Regions from separate parts of the Homo sapiens genome. Here regions 1, 2 and 4 are each linked to region 3. The links are contacts of gene promoters, found by promoter capture Hi-C in blood cells and fetal thymus (Javierre and others, 2016). All regions are on one chromosome and are shown on one strand. The core of a region is centred on a gene start or on the middle of the fragment in contact, and the rest is flanking DNA. Distances in the headings are between cores, read along the strand shown. Region 1 overlaps LOC105376755 (a long non-coding RNA gene). Region 2 overlaps DNAH7 (dynein axonemal heavy chain 7). Region 3 holds the start of TMEFF2 (transmembrane protein with EGF like and two follistatin like domains 2). Region 4 overlaps DNAH7 (dynein axonemal heavy chain 7).

Evidence for each region. Contacts are between HindIII fragments. The CHiCAGO score rates a contact against its expected background, and 5 or more counts as called.
Region 1: a contact is called between a fragment that was not itself captured here and the fragment with the promoter of TMEFF2 in region 3, in 6 of 17 cell types (endothelial precursors, naive CD8 T cells, total CD8 T cells and 3 more). The highest score is 10.3, in endothelial precursors.
Region 2: a contact is called between a fragment that was not itself captured here and the fragment with the promoter of TMEFF2 in region 3, in 4 of 17 cell types (total CD4 T cells, total CD8 T cells, non-activated CD4 T cells and 1 more). The highest score is 10.1, in total CD4 T cells.
Region 4: a contact is called between a fragment that was not itself captured here and the fragment with the promoter of TMEFF2 in region 3, in 1 of 17 cell types (naive CD4 T cells). The highest score is 7.9, in naive CD4 T cells.

The regions. Positions count from the first base shown.
Region 1 is chr2:195,321,139-195,327,727 of GRCh38, forward strand. The region is part of intron 1 of LOC105376755 (a long non-coding RNA gene); the gene reads right to left. Among named protein-coding and RNA genes, the nearest start is that of LINC01825, 210 kb to the right of the region's middle. The HindIII fragment of the contact is 2,495 bases long and covers 3,197-5,691 here.
Region 2 is chr2:195,935,082-195,941,628 of GRCh38, forward strand. It overlaps DNAH7 (dynein axonemal heavy chain 7), which reads right to left. Exons shown (of 65, transcript NM_018897.3): 20 at 1,518-1,711. Among named protein-coding and RNA genes, the nearest start is that of DNAH7, 130 kb to the right of the region's middle. The HindIII fragment of the contact is 531 bases long and covers 2,198-2,728 here.
Region 3 is chr2:192,191,719-192,198,833 of GRCh38, forward strand. TMEFF2 (transmembrane protein with EGF like and two follistatin like domains 2) reads right to left here and starts at 3,215. Exons shown (of 10, transcript NM_016192.4): 1 at 2,635-3,215; 2 at 162-271. The coding sequence starts at 2,806. RefSeq lists an enhancer at 3,161-3,736. The HindIII fragment of the contact is 4,792 bases long and covers 2,290-7,081 here.
Region 4 is chr2:196,050,102-196,056,602 of GRCh38, forward strand. It overlaps DNAH7 (dynein axonemal heavy chain 7), which reads right to left. Exons shown (of 65, transcript NM_018897.3): 3 at 1,086-1,148. Among named protein-coding and RNA genes, the nearest start is that of DNAH7, 15 kb to the right of the region's middle. The HindIII fragment of the contact is 5,446 bases long and covers 2,440-6,501 here.

The sequences.
Region 1 (6,589 bases), core at 3,194-5,693, 3.1 Mb after region 3:
TTTACAATGTAGTAGGCACAATGAGAAATGTCGCACTGGTGCTTTTTTACTTAATAGATTTGCATGGACATTGTATGGGCATAATGCATATTGTACTTTATTGAATCTAAAGTGTTATTAAACACACTATTTTATGTTCCAATAGGAGAAAATCACTGACAATTAAATTGTGACAAGTTGCTTTCCCATAATTTAAAAATAGTTTACATTTATTCTAAGAGCCATTTAGTCTTACTTTGACAGAGATCTTTTTTAACATATTAGTCTATTGCGTATATAAAAAGAAAAATACAGCAAAATAAATTGGTTAAGGCAATAATTCATAATCACCACAACTGCTGCCTCATCGTTGGTAACTGTAAAACACCAGTGATTATTATATATTCTCCAAGTTGAGAGTTAAAATGTAATTTAAAAAAGGATTTTTAGAATCATTTAAGGGCATATTTTCTGATCAGTTTCTAAAACAGTCATTGTGTAATGGAGCTAGAACAACTCATGAAAAAAATGATACAATGCTTTAACTCCTTTATTTTTGTCTTTGGGCGCTATTATTAATCACCACAGTAGTTGAGAGCATGCATTACAGAGTCCATGAGGCCCAAGTATTGGTTCTACTGCTTACAAGCTATGTGACTTTTTGGCAGATAAATGACCCTTTCTGAGCTTCAGAACCCCCACATGTAAAAATGGGAATAATGAAATAATGAAATTAAAGCATTAAATGAAATAATGTACTAACACACTTAACACATAGCCAGTAGTACTTTTATATTTGAGTGTGGCTAAGCTCTGGTTATTCTTCTCAATAAAATAATGATAACTAAACTGTTGAGTGCAGGAATAGTTTAAAAGGCTGCTTTCTCCCCTCTCCAGTGATAGAATGTGCAGCATCACCCTTTCAGCTGACTCTTGAAAGTCTTGGATCCCACTTTCACCAAGGTAAGAAAAGAATTAACTGCTCTGGCTTAAAGCCATTCCTGAGTAGCTAACAATTGACAATAAGAATAAATAAACCTGAGAGAGAAATTCAGTTTCCAAATTCATCCCTTATCTTCAAACATTTAAATATTAAGAAGACTATACAGAAGCATGTTTATCCCTAATATATTCATAAAGTCATAATCACAGTATTCCAAAAAAACTGAATTTAAACACTATCAAGTAAACTACCCCAGTCAGAAGAGGTACAAACTGAAAAAAATTAAATAAAAATATTGGAAAGCCTGCCGTCTCAGATAATGTGAGCACCAGAATCATGATAATGAAGAACAGTTCAGGAAAAGCAAGCAAGGCAGAGAATCTAAATCAGCTGGTTACAGTTAGCTTCTGGGTGACGGATAGCCTGGCTGCTGCCTTTGCTTCCCTAGTCCACCTCTGTGAGGGGTGGAACCAAGCCAAGCCCATAAATCAGACACAGCCTCGAGGTTGAGACTTGTTAATAGAACATAAAGACAAACTTCAGAGACAACCTGCACCTCTCAACCCTCCCTAAGGCTGGCAAGGCCAAATATCCTAAGGCACTGAAAGCCGTTTCTAGGTCACTTTCTGAGTAGGAAAGGAAGCTTTAATTTTAACTATTCCTCCGCTCCAGATGCCTGATTACCATCATTAGCACTTACCACCTATTATATGCTTTTTTAATTTAAAAACTATATAAAATTATAAAGAACAAAAATATTTTACTAATGCAATATAAGCCTTAGTATTTCTGAAAATGTATTTATCAACTGTGAACACTTTCTAGTCATTTTCATTGAAAAAGAATGCAAAATAATCCTATGGATAGAAGTAAAATGGACAAATAAACTAATATTTGTAAAGGTGTACAGTATTTATTTCCACTTCACCAGAGGGAGTACATATGTCTGTTTCATTATTCATATGCCACGATTTTAGTTTTCCTGCTTGCTAAATATAAAGAATGTTCTAAGCCCCCAGGCAACAGATTTCAGTAAATGATGGCTGAAATTCATTCACTGCATTATAGCAAAAAAAAAAAAAAAAAAAAAAATCACAGAAGATGTGAGTAACAATGTTCAGGGTTTCCTTTTCCGTGGAGCATTGTAACTACAATTCCTTTGACATCAAGAACTAGTCAGCCTTTGTGTATTATGAATGCTTATACAGCAAATTAATATAATATGAACTTTATGTTAATAAAAACAATTTTACCTATGCCTCTGTTCTCAAAGGTGAAAAATCACTTAATAGGTGGTCTACCGTGAACCTAAATGTTGTAATAAGGTCAAAATGATAATAAAGCAATTTTCACATTAATAGTCTTCTCAATGCTAAAATCATAATAACTCTCTGGATTGTTCTCATAAGAAGCTACCTTAGTTTAAAATTCAAGATACAAAATCAAGCACAGTTCTTTCTGTACAGTTGTTTTTTAGTCTCTCCCTCAAGTAGCATATTTTTAATGCCCTTTTTAACTTAGACATAATGAGAAACGCTACATGAAAATATTAAACAGATTTAAGTTTCTGATCTATTCATGGCCTTAGGTAGAAAACTTACATTTAAAATTATCAGTGAAGAATTAAAAACTATTTTATTAAGGCTATCCATTAATCCATGTCATCCTGATCTGGTCTAATTACAACAGTAAATTCTGTCCATGCAATATTACATTTCAGCTCTGAAGAAGATTAGGAATGTCACTGATGTAGCATAAGCACACTCAAAATGGAGGGAAAATATTTCCCACAGAATGCCACTCATGATGTCCTGATTATAATATGCAGGAGCTTTTAGTTTGCTTTCAGTGTCCCCAAAACTCATTTTGGAAACTTAATTTCCAGTATGGCAATGTTGGGGGATGGAATATGTGGGAAGTAGGCTCTAATAGGAAGCTTTTGGGTCATGAGTGCTGCCCTTCTGGGTGGCTTGATGCCATTCTTGCAGTAGTGAGTGAGTTTTTGCTCTCCGGAGACTGGATTAGTCCCCAGAGACTAATCCACAAGAGTAGGTTTCTATTTTAAAAAAGCCCAGCCTCTTTTTGCATGCACTTGCTTCTCCTTCCACTTTCTGCCATGAGTTTAATTCACATGAGACCCTCACCAGACAGGCTGCCCAGCTTTGGACTTCCCAGGCTCCAGAATCATGAGCCAAATGAACTCCTTTTCTTTCTAAATTGCCCACTCTCGGGCATTCTCTTATGGGAACACAAAATGAACAAAGACAGTTTTGAAGCTTCCAAGGCAATGAGAGAATAAAATCAGTAGTGAGAGAGAGGGCTATCAAGAAATATATGAAGGCCAATGAAGTAAAGATCATCAGGTACATCTTGGGCTGTTGTCAAGGCATTTTTGCCCTATCTGTTGTTCATTTGAAAATGGATATGACCTGATTATCTCTAACAGAAATCTCATTGAAAAATATATTTCTCATTGGCTCTGACACAAGCCTGAAATATACAAAATGCTAACTCCTTTAGGTCAAAATATACACTATTTTTTATTTCAGCCATTATCATTTTGGTTTCCATTTGTTGATTAGATTTGCCAGCAACTTGATAGAGCTGCAAAATATTAGTATAGAGGTGAGGAAAACTTTGATGACAAAAGGAAGATAAAGTCTGGAATGATTTAAAGAACTTCCAGAAATACTGTTGAAGAAAAACAGCAGTATTTGTGGAAGTATGGGAGCTAAGACTTGGCCTCTGAGAAGACTGTACTGAGTACCGAGAAAGAGTACTAAGATAAGAAAAAGGACTAGTTAAAATCAGAACTGGATGGAGGGGCACCAAAGATCAAGTATGCCTAATTCCCCAAATTTCTCTAAGTTTGGCCTTAACCATTAATAGAATAGATGCCAATCAATTCTGATGACTCTCAACTCACTCTTGAAAGCAAAAACAAGAATATATTGAAGGTATAGATGCATTACATGTATTAGAATATGACGTAAGAGACTATAATGATACCCTAAGTTTTTACACTTAAAAATCTGTTTATTGTTTGTTTTAATATTAAAAGCTATTTAAAGGTTTGGGAAAGATGGAATGATAAGATCCAAAAACACAAAATAACCACCAGTGGAACTCTGATTGGTTTGGGTAGACATGGTAGCCACACAAATGACTGATGGCTGTCAATCATCTAGTGAAGACCAGAACATGTGATTTTGTGATCTTTTCCTCAATATCTTCTCTCAACTCTTCCTCAGAAAGCACCAGAACTATCTACCTAAAGGGATTTTCAAGTCAACATATGGGAGTAAATAAGAAACTCTTTATACTCAGCATTTGGGAAGAGATTTAGTTAAGATATAGACAAGAAAGAGGGGGAAAGTGAAGGGTTCTTGGTGATATATATGGAAAAACAAGGACAAAAATTCGTGTGTGAGGCAATGGTTTTTAATTGCTTTCTAATGGCTGGACATTCATCTTATTTGATCTATATTAAAGCCAGGTGGAGAATAAAACCTGCCTACATTAATTCTATCACCTTCCCTAATTCCTAATTGCCATTTAACCATGGGAAGCCATAACTACCAAAAAGGGGGGCAGAGAAAGCAGAAGATATATGGTTTTATTTTTTATGTAATGTGTGCTAAAATATACTACATCAGAAATGAAAAAAAAGAAAACTAAAGCTATTATGTGAAATACTAGACTGAGCAGGGATTGGTTGTAGATAATTTTAATTCATTTATTCAAATACAAATTCTTAAGACCAAAATTGAGCTCTTTTTCTGTAGGAAGCCCTCTCCTGGCTTCCAAAAGAGAGGTACTGTATTGAATGAAGGGACTGGGGGTTAAGTCTCACATAACTGTACAGTCTTAGCATGGGGCTGGTTTTCAAATAAGAGTACTGTGGCAAATTGATTTTCTAGAGCTTCCTACATTCTATTCCCACTAAATAGTGTTTTAGTACAGGACTGCAAGGCTTCATTTGACTTATATAAATAATTTACCAATTCCTACCTACTTGAGAGAAAGCACTCTTCAGTGAATTTAAAGGACTTGATTACTCTTCATCCACTTTCTGAAATTTGAAGGAATGAGGTAAAAATCACTTAACTACCAGCCCTGGATAAGGTATCTAAAATAACCTTCCACACAGTTCTTACTACCTTAAGCAGTATACGAAATAAATTTACGTGTTGAGGAAAAGCAGCATAATTGTTGTTAATTCTGGGATCATCCTGGGAGGAAATCATTATAATACATGCATAACATAGTAGGATATGACCTCTTATGGAAAAATATCATCTAATTTCTTCACTAGAGATCAAAATAAGTAAGTAAGGCTCCTTTTCTCTTCCTTTCTGTGAGTAACTTCTAAATGGAAAAATGGCGATCTATTTTTGTGCTGGTCATGTTTGCTTTCTTTAAATCCTAGAAATAAAATGAGAGATCAATTAAGCCAAGAACCATGTAAAGTAATGAAAAGCTATGAAGTTCTCCCATTTTTCATTGTTTAAAAAAAAGCTATATCAAAACTCTGCCTTCTATCTTTTTTTCTAAAAGACTCAAAACAAATTGTGAAAGAATGTTCATTGGTACTTTATGTACTTGCTCCCTCAAAGGAAACCTCTTAAAAAACTCTTAAAAAAGGAAACCTCTTAAAAAACTCTTAACATACTGTAATTATCTAAATCTTGGGTTCACAGAACTGTTAGGCATTTCTTCTCTCCTCCCCAGCTCAACTACTCTCAACATTGCCTTTATTTCTCTCTTGAAGCTTATGTAAATTGGGGGGTAAACTTTTTCATATTTTTCCAGATGTTTCCTGAAAAAATTCTTTTCCAGAAACCATTTTGAACCTTTCACTTTGTTTTCAAGTGCATTTATCTGTTGTTTATGCACATGTTTTCTTTCACTAAATCACTAATAATCCCATCCTGGGCAGCTCAAAGTTAGCTGCCCTACTCTATTAATCTCTATAAAATTGGCTCCCACATGTGTCCAGTTTTCATGCAGGGTAAAAATAGAAATCTGTACACAGTTTCATCTTCACATCTTCTGCTTCATTTCTTGGTTATCCACCAGACTTTTTATGTTCTATAGCTTGTCTCCTGGAAATATGTTAGAAATATGTCCATATGTGTGATAATCCCTCATATATCCAAAAAACTAAGCCATCTCCCTTATTTTAAACTGCAGAAAAGTTTAAAATAGTGTTTTTCAGACAGTTTGAGTAGAAAATAGAATAAGTTTACCTCTTTTGTATTCACCTTGAAATAACTAGTAATAAATAAATTCAAAATTCTTAAACCTGTTCTTAATGAGTTTTAAACTATAGAGTTTTTGATGTGATGGGGTACCCTATGCCAAAAGTTATTGAATGAAAAAAAATCACCAAAGAAAAGCAAAGTCAAGTACTTTATCTTTGGCAAATATCTCTTCTCTAAGTAAAGAACAGGACCTACAGCTTCTTATTTCAGAAATATTTTGCATATTAGAAAATGGGGGAAACTAATACGAGAGTTTTTTAGGGCAACAGAATTAACCAGGTCACTGAATTGCTTTATTTCACAGAATTCAATGCTGGCAAAGAGGCGTCCCTTTAAAATTCCTCCTATGCCTTTCTTCAATAGTTATCATAGAGAAAGAGAACTGAAGCTTTGAGACTCTAAT
Region 2 (6,547 bases), core at 1,213-3,712, 3.7 Mb after region 3:
AAAGATGCTAAAGGTAACATAAGGAGAAAACCAATCTTGACTAACAGATAAATACATGAATCTGAAGAATCTTCAAATGCACAAAAGTAGCCATTTCAACTGGGTTCTTCAGAGACTGCTTGAAAATTGTGGACTATGTTTAGTAACTTAGGTACTTTACAGTTTACTAAATCAACTGCGTTGACAGTATCCAACTATTAGTCTATTCAATGTAATACAGATGGGACTGACACAACTCATTTTTGGCACACTACCAATAACCCGTTGCATTCATCTTTCAAATGGACAAAAAGAAGCAAAGTATAAAAACTCAGATAGAAATCTGAGCCTAAATTTACCTTTTGTTTAGATTACATATCCCCTACTTTGAAGGCACAAGTTAACAAAATTAACACATTTGTTTAACAAGTATCTATTCACTGTTTATATCAGATGCTCTTCTAAAGATTGGGGAATCAGCAGTGGGAAAAAAACAGTCAAAAAATCTCTACCATGGTGGAGCTTATATTCCGCTAGAGGAAGACATGCCATTAACAAATAAGTAAATTACAGAGTATGCCAGATGATAACAACTATGCAGAAGGAAAATGAGGCAAGGAAAATAAGTCCAGGAAAGAGGGCAAGTTGAGCATGGAGGGAGCTGCCTCTTTAAATATGGTGGTCAGGGAGGGCCTCCCTGAATGACAGATGTTTAACCAGATTTCCACTAAGACTTATAGGAGGTAAAGGAAGAAGTATGATGAACATTTGGGTAAGGAGCATCCCAGGCAAGAGAACAGTACACTGAGAAAGGAGGCTGCCCCTTTTACCGGGGAATTGCAAAAAGGTTGGTGGGCTGCATGCAGAGTGAGCAAGAAGACTAGTAGGAGATGAATAGGAAGGATAACAGGGGAAGGATAATCTGTGTGGGGCATTGCAAACCATCATGAGAGCAGTGGCTTTTATTCTGAATGTGCTGTGAAAGAGCTGTGTTCTGAAAAATCTGTAAGATGTGATAAGTTAAGAAATCTGGCCAGGCACGGTGGCTCACGCCTGTAATCCCAGCACTTTGGGAGGCCGAGGCAGGTGGATCACTTGAGATCAGGAGTTCAAGACCAGCCTGGCCAACATGGTGAAACCCTGTCCCTACTAAAAATACCAAAATTAGCTGGGCATGGTGGCGCACGCCTGTAATCCCAGCTACTCGGGAAGCTGAGGCAGAAGAATCACTTGAACCTGGGAGGCGGAGGTTGCAGTGAGCCAAGGTCGCGCCATTGCACTCCAGCCTGGGAAACAAGAGTGAAACTCCATCTCAAAAACAAAAAAACAAACAAAAAAAGAAAACGATTCCACGGTTCATTCAGTGATACTAGTTACATTTTTAATAATTATCCAAAGTTGATTATATAATACTTGGAACATTCTTGTAGAAAAAATATTATATAAACATGATTATATATATTTATGTTCTACTTTGTTCTAAAAATTAAGTTTAAGCAGATAAATTTAGTCATGTATTCTACATGTAAATTACTTACCTAGTGGGATCTTTAGTCTCAGATAGTATCTCAAGAAGTTCATCATTGGACAAAAAAAAGAATCTGGGGAAAAAGAGGCGTTTCTTTTCCAAATATTCATTAAGTCCTTTAAGAATGAGCTCCAAAAGTTCATTAGATTTTTTCAGCCTTTCCAGCATTCTGTCAATGGTTACAACTGTCAGAACATGTTTATCCTAAAAATAAAAATAAAAAACACTCAATTCAAAAATATTAGATACTAACTCTATTTATATTCATATTATATTTGAGATTATATGTTTGTAATCAAACAAAGGTTATGTAAATTTTAAGGGGAGTATTTGTTTTTTAAAAGTAGTCTTGCATATTCTAGGTCTACTTGGCCTCTCTGATTCTGTAAAAGTCACATTGATTTAATCCTCAGCCCTGTTCATAACGATTCTCATTCTAAGTTGAGAAGTGTAAGAAACAGAAAATGAGAGAGAGAGAACACTGCCTGAACTCACAAGAAGGACAGTGGAAACAAACTGGTATGAGATATTTTCTTTTGTATTTTATTCTTTGAGGAAAAGAATTCTAAACAATAAGTCATCATTATAATTATTATTTTGAATTTTATTGTTATGAATAATAATAACATAACAGAATCCCTGTTTTATAACTACAGAGAAAAAAGTAAGGGTTGAGGAAATGAGGAAGAAAGCTTTCTAAGAAGATCTTACATTGTAAACAATGACCCTTGAAACTACTTTATAACACTTCTTGCTGAAGGACTGAAGTTCAAGGTGTGCTCTTCCTGAACTCTCTAGAGACAGACTGTTCCACCTTTAAGGCATGGTGAACATTCTCACTTGAAAGTGTCACTGTGAGCTGTTTGCTTTAAAGTGATTCAAACACAATCAAATATTTTTAAAAGAGCTTTCTTTTATCCTGTGTATTCAAAATAAGAATTATAACCAAAAGCTGATCTTAAAGAACTCATATTTTTTAAAAAAAGTAAATAGAGTTTATTGATTTCTCAAAATATCTATACAGTAACCACCAAGTTTATGAAAATCTTTAGAAATACATATAAAAATACAGCCTAGATATAGTTGAAATAGAATTCTTTTTACTTTTTTTTCTTTAACACATGGTTGATGTCATCTGGGTCTATTCTTGGTCTTATAATTCCAAAGTCAGTGTTCACCACTGACATCATTGACAATGTAAGGAAAGTTCTTTACTTAATAAGCTTGAAGGTGTTGAAAAAACAAAAAAGGTGCTAACACAACAGAGATTTCAATCGCCAAGTAGCACACCTCATGAAAATACACCAGACATTTATTAATGTAACAGGGCATTTTAGGAAATTTATATGAAATTAAATCAAGAGAATATTGTTAAAAACTAAATACTAAATTTCAAGATTAACTAATTAGATATTTTTGGTATTTAGCCATGACTGAGAGATAACCAAAAATGTAACCAGTAAATTTTTTCCTATAGGAATTTTATTCAATTGCAGGAGTCTCTAAAGTATGTTTTTGTGAACATACTTTGAATGTGTCTGAAAAGGAAAGATACAATTTTTGCTTTTTTTGGATTACAACAATGCAATTTGGAAACAGCAATTTAATCAAAGAAAATAATTATCATTACTTGTTTCCTCAATAAAACATGAATATATAAATCATATAATATAATTAGATCAATTTATCTTTAAAGGTGCATAATTTTTAAAAGGAATTTTATTATGCTTCTTGTTTTATGTTTCAAATAGACATTCACACACACACACACACACACACACACACACACACACAAACACACACAGCATAACAGACTCAGGCCATCATGTTCGCCTAAATCCAAATATCAAAATAATGTTCTTAGAGTGCCACCTTCTGGAAAAGTATGCCTGTATTTGTTTGGGGAAAAAAGCTGAATTGTGGCTAATAAATGTAAAAAACTCCTTTCACACATGAACAGTATTTGTTATTCTCAACCAAAAAAATTATTGCAATGTTTCCATTCTTAATCTAAGATTTGAAAGCTAAAAACTCAGTTATTTAAACCAGTATATTCCATTTGCTAAATATTATAATTGCCAAAATAACAAACAAACAACAACAAACCATGGAAAGAGCATTCAGGTAAACTTTTTTTATTATTGAATTTCCAGGGTCAAACCTATTTAACCAGATTAGCTTAATAACTCTGAACCAAATATGCTACTTTTAAATGAACACAGGCAATAATCTATGTATCTTTGTATATGGATTTAAGATTTTAAAATAAAAGTAATCATCTTATGACTGGCAACTCAACTACCTTTACTCTCTCCCAGTGAGAAGACAAACATAATAAAGACTGTATCAGATAAAGAAAGGGGCCCAAGTTGAACAGACTTGGTGTCTGTCCACACTCTATTCCCCACTACCTGTGCGACCTTAGATCATCTGCTTAATCTGAGTCCCTTTTTTATTATCTTGAAAATGGGGATAAAAGCCCTCTCTCAAAATCGGTATGAGGACTAAATTAGATAATGTATTTGAAGTGACTAATATGGTGTCTAAAACACACAGACACTTGAAGCGACCCTTTTACTCCCCCTTTCCTTCTCCTCACCCCAAAATTGTCTGTTAGAAAGAGTGCAGGTGGGGAAGGATTGACTCTGGGGAAAGGGGAAAATGAAGCATTTACATCACTCCATGTTTTATGGAGTTAAAATGAACATTTTATAATCTTCCATCCTTCAAGAAAGGTATTTATCATAGTAAAATAACACTGACTTTAAATTCCTCTAAGAATCGCCATCAAATCCTGGTACAGAGTCACCATTCCATGTTGAGTGCTTCAGCAAATGCAGGATGAACTGCACTTGGGCTCATACAGGGAAACTCAAGGAATGTACAAGCCTCCATGTCACAGAAGGCTGGTACTTCATAGCTATGTCCTCAGAACATAGCAATAAGATGTTGTAACAGGAAGCTACTAGAAATTTGAATCTTAGTATGACTTCTTTGACACTTTAATTACTTTCTGTCTCCTAAAGGGGAAGAATTGAATTATTAATTGTCATTTTTTTGGTTAAAAGAACACTGACTGACAATTTTTAAGTGTCTTCTTTTACTTCACAACCACCCACCAATCTCATCAGCTCTAGTGATGATCTACTAGGTTTACATTTCTAAACCAAATGAATGTGATATCAGGGGCCCGAAACATTGAGTATATAGAGAGCTTTCTCATTTCTGCTACTAGGAAGTTTCATAGAAAATACGGTTTTGTCACTGCTCAAAGAAATAAGAGAGAACACAAACAAATGGAAAAAAATTCCATGCTCATGGATAGGAAGGATCAATATCATGAAACTGGCCATACTGCCCAAAGTAATTTATAGATTCAATGCTATTCCCCTCAAGCTACCACTGACTTTCTTTGCAGAATTAGAAGAAACTACTTTAAATTTCACATGGAACCAGAAAAGAGCCCTTATAGCCAAAACAATCCTAAGCAAAAAGAACAAAGCTGGAGGCATCATGCTACCTGACTTCAAACTATACTACAAGGCTACAGTAACCAAAACAGCATGGTACTGGTACCAAAACAGATATATAGACCAATGGAACAGAACAGAGACCTCAGAAATCACACCACACATCTACAACCATCTGATCTTTGACAAACCTGATAAAAACAAGCAATTGGGAAAAAAATCCCTATTTAACAAATGGTGCTGAGAAAACTGGCTAGCCACATGCAGAAAACAGAAACTGGACCCCTTCCTTACACCTTACACAAAAATTAACTCAAGATTGGTTAAAGACTTAATTGTAAAACTTAAAACCATAAAAACCCTAGAAAAAGAAAACCTAGGCAATACCATTCAGGATACAGGCATGGGCAAAGACTTCATTGGCTAAAACACCAAAAGCAATGGCAACACAAGCCAAAATTGACAAATGGGATATAATTAAACTAAAGAGCTTCTGCACAGCAAAATAAACTATCATCAGAGTGAACAGGCAACCTACAGAATGGGAGAACATTTTTGCAATCTATCCATCTGACAAAGGGCTAATATCCAGAATCTACAAGGAACTTAAGCCAATTAAAAAAAAAACCAACCCCATCAAAAAGTGGGTGAAGGATATAAACACACACTTCTCAAAAGAAGACATTTATGTGGCCAACAAACCTATGAAAAAAAGCTCATCATCACTTGTTATTAGAGAAATGCAAATCAAAACCACAATGAGATACCATCTCATGCCAGTTAGAATGCCAATCATTAAAAAGTCAGGAAACAACAGATGCTGGAGAAGATGTGGAGAAATAGGAACGCTTTTACACTGTTGGTGGGAGTGTAAATTAGTTCAACCATTGTGGAAGACAGTGTGGCGATTCCTCAAAGATCTAGGATCAGAAATACCATTTGACCCAGCAATCCCATTACTAGGTATATACCCAAAGGATTATAAATCATTCTACCATAAAGCCACAAGCACACGTATGTTTATTGCGGTACTATTCACAATAGCAAAGACTTGGAACCAACCCAAATGCCCATCAATGATAGACTGAATAAAGAAAATGTGGCACATATACACCATGGAATACTATGCAGCCATTTAAAAAATGAGTTCATGTCCTTTGCGGGGACATAGATGAAGCTGGAAGCCATCATTCTCAGCAAACTAACACAGGAACAGAAAACCAAACACTGCATGTTCTCACTCATAAACGGGAGTTGAACAATGAGAACACATGGACACAGGGAGGGAAATATCACACACTGGGGCCTGTCGGGGGTTGGGGGGCAAGAGGAGGGAGAGCATTAGGACAAACACCTAATGCATGCAGGGCTTAAAACCTAGAACCTAGATGACAAAAAAAAAAAAAAAAAACCTAGATGACAGGTTGATAGGTGCAGCAAACCACCATGACATATGTATACGAAGGTAACAAACCTGCGTGTTCTGCACATGTATCCCCAAACTTAAAGTAAAATAAAAAATAATAAAAAATAAAAAAAGAGATAATGCAGTTTTGTATACTTAATGGAA
Region 3 (7,115 bases), core at 1,965-4,464:
CTTCTTGACATCAGTTGGCTCTCTTGCTAGTACTTTTGCTTGGTGCCAGCTTCCCTCTTAGCTTGCATAGCTATAAATTTCCAAGTGATAGGCTGTAAAGGAAGATTCCTGCTTTGCAGTCTCATTAATGAATTAGAAGATGCAAATATAAGACTTCTTACCTTGAACTGACAGACGCAAGTCACAGTGTCTCCAATTCTTAAACATTCCCCATCAAATTTACAGGTGTTGGTGTCACAGAGGAAGAGATCATTTTCTCTGTCATCATAACCTCAAATTCAAAGAGAACACTCCAGTCATTAAAACATCTTACAGATTTTTAACAAAAAAAAGCACTACTTTGAAGCTTTAAAATACTTGTCCTAAATTTTAAATCCAACAACTATAGCTGTACTGCAAGGTCACTGTCTACTGATAACCTCAAAATCTAGTTAAGTGATCAATATTCGTTTCCATTTTCCACAATTCTTTTCTAGTCAATTCTCCTTTAGTATCCTTTTCTGATAGTGCTATTTTTTAAAGCTTGCGTTAATACTGACAGTGGTGAATGAAAGCTTAACATTTGCTTCCTGTTTTTTTTTTATTTTTATTTTTTGCTCATTAGGTGGACAATATTTATGACCACAAAACTCCACATTTTGGAAAAGAGCTAGTGATGATCTCTGAATACCCTTTTACCATTTCCCCATCTTTAATTGTTCTTTTGCTTCAACGACTGAAACAACCCCTTATTTGAAATGTATCCAGACAAAGAGGAAACAAAGCCTCAATAATAAAGATAAACAGGCACAGTGTTTTCTGTGATGGTCTGTTTGGCTCAAATGAAGATTGATCACCTCTAAGTTAACAGGGGTGGAAGCGGGGTGCCAAGTTCTTGACAACCTATCTGCAAAACCAGTTTATTCTCTTTAGTTTATGCAGTCCCCTTTAAAATATCTGGTAAATATGTAATTTCTTGATTGCAAATGTCAACTTCACATTTAAGTTAGTTATTTCCTAAAACAATGCAAGGGCTAGGAATGAAGCAAACCAGTCTGTGTTGGACTACAAAGCCATCAACATTTCCAAAAATTGTTTTTGCAGGCTCATAATTATTACCATAATAAAGCATCTAAAAAGTGATTAGGCAATAGCAAAGTGAAACTTATTCTTTCAAAAACAACACACATGTACGCATGAATCAAGAAGTTATAGAAACATGTTGAGTTTTATTAAAATGCCAAATTTAGAAACTGCCAAAAAAGAGAACAATCTATTGACCCAAATCTAATAGGGTTGCATATCTCAACTTGTCTTTGTAAAGGATAAATTAGAATGATGCATAATAATTTTCCTTTTGGCATTTACATCAGTAATAACTAGGAACTATACAGGCTTTCACCCTGAGTTACAGTTGGTCATTCCCTCCTCTCTAAAGTTACATACACTTCAGCTTATATACATCTTTGAAAGACACTTTATTCAGAGCCAGATTTAACTACAGCAAAATTATATTCACAGAAGATGAAAAATTACATACACACTTGCTAAAACTAGAACAGACCACACCTAGGGGACAATACCCAGGCATGTTAACGGAGTTTAAAATGCCAAGGAAATTACACCACAATTCTGCCCAGTATACTACAGGCTGTCAAACCGAAATGCTATGCCAGCTAGGAGTGCAGCAACTCCCATCCTCTGGCCCTATTTAATTAGGAAGCTTCAGCAGAGCGAAGCCTGCCAAGCGTTCGCCGTCAGAATCTGAAGGAACCCGAGCGAGCAAGAAGAGTGCCTGACCCACTCCACAGAAGCCTGTCCAGAAATGGAGGAGTCAGCGCCCACTGAAGTCGGTTCCGCCCTCGGCTCGCCTACATGGAGCCTGACCAGCCTCAGTCATGCCCACTCCGGCCTGGGAGACCCGCAAAGTGTTCTTTTTCTCAACTCCCCTGTACTACCTTGAAGCTTAGGGAAGCAAAGAGAGGGGCATATCTGGACTGCAAAACCAATGTCTTTTGCCGCCTAGGAGAGAAGGGAATGAGAGAGAGAGAGAGATAGATAGATAGAGAGAGAGAGAGAGAGAGAGAGAGAGAGAGAGAGAGAGAGAGAGAAATTCTATTGAAACCCAGCTCCTCTAGAATCTGTGTGACCTGGTCTTCAACGGGAGACCAGTGCGACCTCATGGCACCTTTGCCAGGAATCAGCGATTCCCCTGCAGTCACCATTTGATTTATTGCTTTCTCGCTCATTCTTTCTCATAAAGTTATTTCTTCCTCATCCTAGTAAGACTTTTTTCTTTAATGATGACAAAGCTTCTGTTTCAGTGTTTCCCCTAGGATTGGTGCTCTTTCAAAACAGTGAACCCAGAAAACCATCCCGTTTAATATTTCTCAAAATCCTCGCAGCTCCAATGTAAGCGCAAGCATGCAAAGGTTTCCTGCTACACCTGCACTTTCTGCCCATCCCAGAACCACCCCTCACCCCCGGGCCTGCAACAGTTCCCCTTGTTTCTCTGGATAGAGGTGGGTGGTATTAGGGGTCTAGGGCAGTAGGAGGTGAGGGGCTGAGGAGGCGCGCTAGGGTAGGCTGGTCTGTGCTGGATACGCGTGTTCTTCTGCGGAGTTAAAGGGTCGGGGACGGGGGTTCTGGACTTACCAGAGCAATTCCAGCCGGTGGGCGTTTGGCAGTCACTTAAGGAGGTAGGGAAAGCAGCGAGCTTCACCGGGCGGGCTACGATGAGTAGCATGACGGGCAGCAGCAGCAGCCAGCAAAAGCCCTCGCAAAGTGTCCAGCTGCTGCACTGCCGCGGGGACTCCCACAGCACCATGACTAGTTCGTGCAACTCTGCAGCAGCAAACGGCTTCCGAGGAACACAGGATCGCGGGGGCCGGGCAGCGGGCTACTGAGCATCCCGCGGACGGCGGCAGCAGAGGCGGCGGCGGTGGCAGTGGCACCCGGCGGGGAAGCAGCAGCCAAACCCGCGCATGATCTCGAGAGTTTCAGCAACATCCAGGGACTGGGCTCAGCCCCGGAGCGAGAGGGTCGTCCGCTGAGAAGCTGCGCCGGAGACGCGGGAAGCTGCTGCCATAAGGAGGGAGCTCTGGGAAGCCGGAGGACAGGAGGAGACGGGAGTCCAGGGGCAGACGAGTGGAGCCCGAGGAGGCAGGGTGGAGGGAGAGTCAAGGCGCCCCGCAGCCCGGCAGCCGCCTCTCGAGCTCTGCCGCCCGCATCCCTCTGGCGTTTGGGAAGCAGCAGGTCCTCAGCCCGCCCGGGGTCACGTGGGAAGAGGCAGTCGGGCTCTGATTGGTGGAGCAGGATGCAGGTCCCGGGAGGGAGGGGTCGACGAGGAGGTGCAAGGATGCAAGGAGGAGGCGGCCGCGGAAGCCACAGATGGGCTCGCTCGCCAGGCGCTGGCCCGAGTGGGGCTAGGCGGGGATGGCTCAAATGAGAAGCTCGGGCTTCAGGGTGGGCTACCCGCACACTCATATACCATTCGCCTCACTCTCCGCTCCAGGACGCCCCCTACCGAAGGCGGGGTCCGGACTAGCGCCCCTCTTCCGCGCGTGACCCCGGGCCGCGAGTGCGGGCCGCGGCTGGGTGGCGTCTCTCCGAGCTGGAGATGGTGGGGGCGGAGGTGTCAGAGGAGCAGCAGCAGCAGGGCAGAGAGGGGCGAGTCGGCGCGGGAGAGGGCGTCCTGCTGGCGACCGGCGCTCCAGCGTGCGGGAGCGCGCCGCCTAGGCTGTAGGGGGATGCAGGCTGGGAATGTCGCGGCGGAGAGGCCAGGGACGTTTCTCTAGGGATTTACAGGAAAGAGGGTGAGAGGCGATGGTGTTAGAACCGCTCTTGCCGACCTGGAAGCAACAGCAGCATCTCCCACAAGAGCGTGCAACCCCAAGGCTGCTCGCCGAGGCAGCTCAGCCATCCCGGCAGGCGCTCTCCTTCCTTCTCTCTTCTCCCCTCTCTCCTCCCAGGCCCCCCGCAGCTCCGACCCAGCCCAAGCGTTCGCAGGTTTGAATCCCTCTCCTCATCACCCGCTCCTCTCCAGCCCGTAGCCTATTAGTGTGTCCACCTGGGAGGTGCGGTCAGATGTGTTTGGAAGGTCAGATTGGTCGGGACAAGTGGTCTGAGAGAAAGAGAAAGGCTCCTCTGCATACGCCGCGGGTGGGTTGCCGGGAGCATCGGCCGGGCAGCGGCGTCCGGGAAGGGGAGAGCGGGCTCCATTTGTTGGCCCAGGCAGTGACCCTGCGTTCCTTACTCGGGTCTTTGCCGGATGGCCGGTGACCTGGGGCGACGAGAGAAGGTCTAACTCGGCAGGAGTCTCTGGCTCTGCGCGTTTCTTTCATTCTCTCCAGCGGGAAGGGCAAACGGCATAGCGGGACCCGCCTTCCGTCTGCTGCATTCTTCAGGCAGTTAGACACACTCTTTAGCCTAATGGAATTTTAGTCGCCAGTAACGGGACCAAGAGCTTTCGGGGACAAGGGTGGAGAGGAACATCTTTCTTCCATGACCGGGGTCACTATTGCAGTCTCAGTGTTTTGGATGCCCCATAGGGAAGAGCTTTCTTTTTGGTGTGTGATTATTCAGTGATTCCTGTTTTTGTTTTTGTTTATCTTCTCTCCGCTCTCCTTCTCTATTCCTCTCTGTTATCCCTCCTCCTTCTTCTCCCCCCGCTTTCAAAAGCCTCCGGATCCTCCCTTTTTCTATTTAAATTCTCCTTTTGTGCCCCTCTTTCTGTGTCCCCTGAATTTAGGAGAGCATTTGATAACATTTAACAGGCAATTAGTGTCCATTCCCAATCACTTAAAAGAGGCATTCATATACTTTGAAAACGGGACTATCTATCCTTTGCAGACACCAGCAGAAAAACAAATTGTACCCGAGTAATCCTTTTAAGTACTTTAACCTCCAACCTCCTCCCACTTCCTTGCTTTTTAACTTCTCCTTTGAGAGATGTGATCGTGCAGCACCTCAGTGCCTCAACGAAATCTTTTTTTTTTTCCTGTGTGAAATCCATCCCTTTATCTTACATCTCCGCCTCCGTCCGAGACTGTCCCTCTCCCCTCCCACCTCCAAAGATTTCTGAATCTCAGTGTCTCTCACTCCTGGCAATTAAGCAGCAGATCCCAGCATTCTAGTCGGTGGCATCTCGCTCCTCACCGACGAAGACTCCATTAAAACAGATCAATTAGACCAGACGTTGGAGGCATCAGAAAATCGGCTTCTAGACAGAGCAGCTAAATTCTTTAAGGAAACAGAATACCCATTAGATAGAGCTGCCAACTAATATTGCAAAACAAGGAATTAGAAATTTCTTTCGCTACAGGCTTTCAGCAGAGAAGGCAACATAAATATAGATCAAGATTTAACAACTCTACAGCAGAGAATGAGAACATGTCATTTTCCATAGCAAGGCTGGTGTGGTAACTAATCAGGCTTATGAAAATAAGTCATGCTTGAAACTAAAGGCAAAGTCCTTAAAAGTGTTTATGCAGTAATTATGATAATGAAACAGGACCTGCTAGGATTTCAGAGTTTGGCTATGTAAGTAGAATTTTAGAGAACCTCTTAGCAGAGGAAAACTGTTTTTGAATTTTCTGCTAAGTAAATTTTTGGCATACTTTCTAATAATATATGCTCTTCCTAAGACGTTTTGCCAAAAGTAAGTTAAAACTCCAAAGGAGTTAATTACTGGTTGTAACTGGTTAACAAATGCGGTTGCTTCCACAGAGGTCCTTTAAATTATTAAACAGTTTGAAGCAAAGCCTTTTCAATGGGAATGCTGCAATTTTGTTGCACTTACTCTGTACTTAGTGTTATAGTGCCACCAAGAAACAAATTCTGAAACTGGCAAGCACCACCAAGTGGCAGAAGAACATCACTCATTGAGCAGAGAATTGTATTACTGAATATGTAAATAAAAATATATACATTATTTAGACTTGTCACTAGGTACCAAAGAAGTAGACAAGACTGCATTAGCAATTGGATTAGTGCTTTAACTTTTCCCCAGCAAGGCAAAATCAGTTTACTTATTAGAATTAAATTTAAGTCTATGAACTGTACTTTGCATTGCGTATCATATGATTGCTAGTAATATGACACAATCATACCATGTATTTGCAAAATTCTTATTTTAAAATACTATACCATATTTACTTTCAATCTTCTTGAGCTAGAACACTTTATTTGTGGCATATACACTCTAGAATTGATGCAGAGGAGCAGAGTCCAGTTGTTAGATTTTTCAGTAGAAATAGTGCAGATATATTTTCTCCAGAAAACTTAAGAACATTTTTTTTTCTCATGGAAAGAACATCATTATAAAGTGTGAGATTACTCACAGCTTAAGTAGGGGGCTTGGGAGTTATTCTCCAACAAGAATAGTTTAAGATAAATAAATGAACCTGGGAAAATAAGATACACTGCCAATCAGAACTCTTATCTCCTTCATGATTTCATACTTTCTGATTGCTTCAATAAAGGTAAGATGTATCCTTTGCTTCTTAGGTGTCAGGCATTGTGCCATGTAGGATAGAACATGTTATTTTTATTTAATCTTTAAAACACCCCTATGAGACAAAGAATATTATCTCATTTTATATAAAAGGAATATGGCTTTGAAAGCATCAGGCAACTTGCCCCAAGAAACAAATCTCGTCAGTGACACTGCTGGGACTCTGTGAAATTCTGCCTGACTTCAGAGCACAAGACATAAGTCACTAATTTCTGCTGTATTGCTGCCTGTTAGCTTCTGAGAGGGGAAACTAACTGGGAACGTATCAGTTCTGTCCATGATACTTCATTTGCCCTTTCTGTGGAGCCGCAGTAAGGCCCAAACTTTAATTCTCAAACTTCGGCAATAAGATCCAGTGATTTCTGAACCTGGTTGATCATATGAATTCCTTGAGAAACTTTGAAACAATAGACAAATTCCAAGTCCCACTATCAGGGATTCAGAAAATCTGGAGTTGGGCCTTGGGATCCACATTTCAATATTCATCCTTGTTGGAGAAGTAAGGTACCACCTATACCTATATGACAAATGAAAGGATACCTCGATTTTTGCTCAGTTTTCACAGAGAGGTTTCTGAGACAGGTTAAAAGCTTTTACTCAGTGTAAAGATGAGCTGTTGTAC
Region 4 (6,501 bases), core at 3,913-6,412, 3.9 Mb after region 3:
AATTATCAGTAATATTCTCTGTACAAAGCAACACAAATTCAATTCTATAGTTTGTTCTCAGCTTTTAAAATATCTTTCAAAGCAAATAATGCTTTGGATGAACCCTGAAGACATTATGTTAAGTGAAATAAGCCAGGCATAAAAGGACAAATATTGTATGATTCCACCAATATGAAATACCTAGAGTAGTCAAATACATAGAGACAAGAAGTAGAATGGTGGTTTGCCAGGAGGTGGGGGAGGGGAAAATGGGGAGTCATTGTTTAACGGACAGGGTTGCTGTTTAGTCAGATGAAAAGAGTTCTGGAGATGAGTGGTAGTAATAATTATACAACAATGTGAATGTACTGAATGTCACTGAATACTTAAAAATGGTTAAAATGGTAAATTTTATGTTATGTATATTTTATCAATTTTTTTAAAAAATAATAATATTTGCATTGACCCTCCCCTTAAATTTAACTTTCAGGAGTCACAAGACTGTAACTTGGTGGCATTAAACTCCACATAATTACTAGACAATAAATTTTATTACATTAAAATCTAACTTGTACAGGGCTTTATCAACTGAAAATGTCTATTAACTGCCTCTTCCACAAGACAATGACACTTTATAGTCAAAATAATGAAAAAAGATTCCAAAATCTAAGAAATATTTTGTAGTACAGCATTTTTCTGCTGGAAGACCCATCTCCTTGAAGATCATCAAATCAACTCAGCTCATTTTCAAACTCAGAAACTGAGGCTCAAGAGGTAAGTGACTCCCCAAAGGGCACAGAGCCATTAGAGGCAAAGCTTTACCCCAAGCCCTTTTTTATTTACTCCAACGCTAATACTCCTTTTGCTAACCAATCTTGGCAAGTCGTTCATTCAGAATACTGAAATATTCTACATATACAGGTAATTATAGCTTATGGTTACTTTACTAAGATAGTTATTTGTCCTAATATGCACACCTCATAGAATTTCTCCATCAGAAAAGAATCAAATGGAGCAGGAATTTGCTTACTTATTTTCAAGTTAGAAAACTAATAAACATTTTTTGAAGCACAAAAATTCAATGAGAATATATTTGGATAAGTTACCATAGACAGCTGTGGTAAAGCTCTTGCTGGTGCCTTGAACTTTTCTTTGCTGGCTAATTTCTCCTGTGTGAAAAATATGAAGGGGAAAAAAGTGTTTACTCTGTTAGTGCTAAAATTGATTCACTGAACCAAATTTTACAGAAAGACTATTTAAAAAGTACATATTATCCAACATATTCAAAGATAAACTTTACTGCTTTTTAAATTCTCAGGTTTGTCTCAGAATTGTTTTCTTTAGAGCAAGAAAATAAAGGAAAATTATATCCAGCAATACTTATCAGAAAGCTTTAAAAAGTATGCAAAACCGGCCAGGCGCGGTGGCTGTAATCCCAGCACTCTGGGAGGCTGAGGTGGGCGGATCACAAGGTCAGGAGATCGAGACCATCCTGGCTAACATGGTGAAACCCCGTCTCTACTAAAAATACAAAAAATTAGCCGGGCGTGGTGGTGGGTGCCTGTAGTCCCAGCTACTTGGGAGACTGAGGCAGGAGAATGGCGTGAACCCAGGAGGCGGAGGTTGCAGTGAGCAGAGATCGCACCACTGCACTCCAGCCTGGGCGACAGAGCAACACTCTGTCTCAAGAAAAAAAAATAAATAAAAAATAACAAGTTCTACCTAGGAACTACTGACACTCACCAATCAAAACTCGCCAGCTCTTGTAAGACACTGCCAGTGCCAATAAACTTTCTTTCAGAACAACTTGTATAACCTCCTCTTTCCCCAATTAAACCCTAATCATTTAACTTGTTCTCCAGACATACTGGAGGCCACCCTAGTCTGTACGTAAGTCCTGGATTGCAATCTCACTTCCTGTATATTATTCTCAAATAAAACCTTTTTACTTGTATGCTTATATTGCAAGTTGACAGCAACTTTCCACAAGTCTCACTTATACCACAGACAGAGACTTCCTTTCAAACTTTCAGGATCCCAGTAGGTGGTTTTCACCTCCCAGCCCAGACCTGCAGCTCTTCAGCAAATGTCTTTGTCATCCAGTGGGCCACAGCCACATCTCCCATGAGGTCTGAATCTAAGGCTTTGGGGAAGGGACGGCTCTTCCAAGTTTGTTCCTTGAGCACTCTCTCTCAGACCTAGAGGGAGTGGCTGCTCCTTATATCTGCTATTCCTCTATTCTTCAGGGCTGTGCTGTCCAAAACAGTATGCACTAGCCCCCTGTAACTACCAAACACTTGAAATGCGGCTCCTCTGAAGTGAGATGTGTTTAAGTTTAAAATATGTACTAGATGTTGAAGACTTAGTACAAAACACAAAGAATGTAAATTATCAATGTTTATATATTGATTAGAGCATATTTTATGTTGATTACCATATGTGTTCCACATTGTTCTAAGAAGCTTACATGAATTAACACCTTTAATATTCTATACGCTGTGGGGTAAATACTGTTGTACCACTTTTATGCCTATTACGTAGATAAGAAATCATGTAGTCTCTGCCTTCACAAAGCACACAGTCCAGTTAATATTAAAGACCATGTGCTTCCATCTAGGACAGGATGTGGAGCAGAGTATTCTAAGAACGTTTCAAAAAGAAAAAGGGTGGAGCTAAGCCTTAAAGCATACCTGGATCTCCACAGAGAAGGACAGCAAAGAGCTTACTGAAGTCAGAGGGCGCATCAAGAATTGGAGTCTAAATGTCAATGGCAGGCTTTGAGGCTATGTTGGAGTGGATGGGGAAGGTAATCCATTCCCTAACTCAACAATGGTTCACCAGCTCCTACCATGTGCTGGGCTCATAGACTAAGTCATAGGACTACAGACTAAGATACCTAGTCCATAGTCGTGGAAAGGACTAAGTCCCTCTGCTTATGGAGTACACATTCTAGAGGAGGTACAGTTATTTCAGAACAGATCTATAACATAATCTCAGAAACTAGTATGTACAATGAAGAATAATAAAACAGTGTGAAGGAACAGAGAGGGAAGGAGTGGAAAAGTGCTAGGTAGATGGAGTAGTAAGACCCTCTCTGCAGAGGTTATGTTTGAATAGGAACCTGAATAAAAGGTAGGGGAAGAACAAACTAGAGCTAGACAAGTGGGTGCTGTTATATTAAGGAGGACATGGGTTTCAGGGCTTGACTGGCCAGGCTGGCAATAGAGAGCCACTGCAGTCTCCTTTTAGGGTGAACTTTAGTCTCAGTTTGCGGAAGACAGTCTCAGTTTACACCTTTAGTCTCAGTTTGCCCAAGCATAACTAGTAGAACTTTCGCTCTCAATGGCATCTTAGTTTAGATGATAAATTATAATGCTATCCTGTTTATGATGTAGAGACATACAAAAGCTATTTCATAAATGGTTCTGATGATACAAACAGGATACATGAGAAGCAGGGGACTAGAGTCAGCAGTGAGGCTAGTTTAGCAGGTTTTTAAGAATAATATAGGCAACAGGAGACATGGGCCTGGATTTACAGAAAATGCTGGTAACAAAAGGTCACCTCTACCTCTCAAAGGCACTGCTCTGATCATACTGCTCCCCTGTTCAGAAACATTTTAAAGCCCCCTGTTGAAGTAGGCACAACTCTTCTTGGTGTCCAAAGCCTTCCTCAACATACTCCAAACTATTTTCCAGCTTCTCTTAGTTACTTTGTAGCCATATGATTTGTGTGGCTAGTGAAATGTGAGCACAACAGGAAACACAGTTAAGTGCTAGAGGGACAGGCAGTTAAGAGCTAGAGGGACAGGGAGTTAAGAGCTGGTGTGCTTCCTCCATCACTATCTCACACCCATGAAGCCCATGTGTTCCCACTGGCATAGCTATAAGATGCAGCGCTACCTGACCCTCGTCAGACTTCATGTGAGCAAGGCCTAATCTTTGTTGGGTTAAGTCTCTGAGATTTCGACTTCCATTTGTTTTGTCAGATAGTATTAATTACCCTGTCAGAGCCACCAATAGGTTCCAAAATATCTCCCTGTTAAAATCTAGCCCTTTAAGACCAAAATCGAAAAAGTTTACATTTCATTTCTTAACTCCAACTGTAAGTAATCTCCTTTGAAGATGCATAGCATTCTTTATTGTTTAAATTATTTTTGGCTGGGTGTGATGGCTCATGCCTGTAATCCTAGCACTTTGGGAGGCAAAGGGGAGCGGAGTGCTTGAGCTCAGGAGTTCAAGACCAGCCTGGGCAACATGGTGAAACTCCATCTCTACCAAAACAGATACACAAAAATAACCTGGGTATGGTGGTGCCTGTGGTCCCGGTTACTCAGGAGGCTGAGGAGGGAGGATTGCTTGAGCACAGGAGGTGGAGGTTGCCATGAGCCAAGACTGCACTACTGCACTCCAGCCTGGGCAACAGAGAGACACCTGTCTTTAAATAAATAAAATATATTCTGATATATGAATTATGTGTACACCTACCTATACTGTTCTCCTAACCCCTCACCCCACCCCACCTCCACCTACTAAATCAGTCTTATAGAGATGAGTGACATGGTTTGGCTGTGTCCCAACCCAAATCTCATCTTGAATTATAGTTCCCATAATCCCTATGTGTCATGGGAGGGACCTGGGTGGGAGGTAATTGAATCATGGGAGCAGTTTCCCCCATGCTAGTCTTGTGATAGTGAGTTCTCACAAAATCTGATGGTTTTATAAGGGGCTTCCCCTTCACTTGGCTCTCATTCTTCTCCCTCTTGTCTCCTGCCACCATGTGAAGAAGAAAGTTGCTTCCCTTTCCACGATGTTTGTAAGTTTCCTGAGGCCTCCCCAGCCATGTGGAACTGTGAGTCAACTAAAGCTCTTCTCTTCACAAATTACCCAGTTTCGGGTATTTCTTCATAGCAGCATGAGAAGGAACTAATACAATGGGAAAACTGACTTTAAAGTCATTTTAGCTTTATCTTAGAAAATCATAAAATGGTGAGGCTGGGCACAATGGCTCACAGCTGTAATCCCAGCACTTTTGGAAAGCCAAGGCAGGAGGATCACTAGAGCCCAGGAGTTCAAGACCAGCCTGGGCAACATGGTGAAACCCTGTCTCTACCAAAAATACAAAAATTAGCTAGGCGTGGTGACCCATGCCTGTGGTCCCAGCTACTGGTGAGGCTCACATAAGCCCAGGAGGTAGAGGCTATAGTGAGCCATGATCACACCACTGCACTCCAGCCTGGACAACACAGCAAGACCTCCTTGTCTCAAAAAAAAATTACAAAATGGTTAACCATGCCCTAAAAAATGGATAACTAAAGATAAGAAAAGAAAAGAAAGGAAAAGAAAAGGAAAGAGTGCAATGAGCTTCAGACAGTACTTTCTGAAATACAAGCACCAGATTAGGGGAACGTTTCACACATATACAATGCTGTAACCCAAATGGTTCTGGTTTCTACAATTCCCACTGGGCTACACAATGGGAAGGGAAATATGAGCACAACATTTTCAAGCTAACAGGTGCAATAGGTGTTCTCAGAGTTGAAGCCTTCCCTTTGGGGAGAATGAGGGTGTGGCAAAGGCCTGAGAAGAATGCAGTTATAGATGACAGAGAGGAATGGCTCTGGGATGTCTAGTCCAAGTGCCCTGGAATTTTCACATCAGGGACAGAGGTAATTCGAATGACATCTATTGTCCTGGAGTCACTACAAATATCCAAAACACCCTATGTAACCCAAGCCTCCTATACAACAACCCCATCACTGCCACCACCCTGACTTTTTAAGATCTCTGCATCATCCATGCTGTTGCTGAGCTATTTCTCCAAGTCTCACCATCACTCTAGGTGAAGAAGGGTGGTGAGGACCTTAATGTTTTCTTCTTACATTGCAGTGCGGAATATGTATCTTATAGAATATTTTACAAATAGTGCTTCTCTAGCTAACCAAGACAAGCAGCCACACATATGTCAGAAAAATCATCTGGCAAATGATGCCTCACATCCTGCTGGCCTCACCTTGGATTCCAGACATGGCTGCAGTAAACAGTTCTGTGCTAGCTTCTCACATCAAGAAAATATCTTTTGTGGCCGGGCGCAGTGGTTCACGCCTGTAATCCCAGCACTTTGGGAGGCCGAGGCGGGCGGATTACCTGAGGTCAGGGGTTCGAGACCAGCCTGGCCAACATGGTGAAACCACATCTCTACTAAAAATACAAAAATTAGGCAGGCGTGGTGGCATACACCTGTAATCCCAGCTACTCAGGAGGCTGAGACAGGAGAATTGCTTGAGCCCGGGAGGCGGAGGTTGCAGTGAGCCAAGATCATGCCACTGCACTCTGTCTGAAAAAAAAAAAAAAAAGAAAAAAGAAATGTTTTTTCTTTTCTGCAGGGGGAATCCTCTAATGCTACAGTATGGGACTCTAGGAAGAGCCCACTCTGCTCACACACATGAGCAGCCAGAAGAGGATGGGAGTCAACATCCCCAGGAACAATCTTTCACCAATACAGGATGAAAGATGACAGATA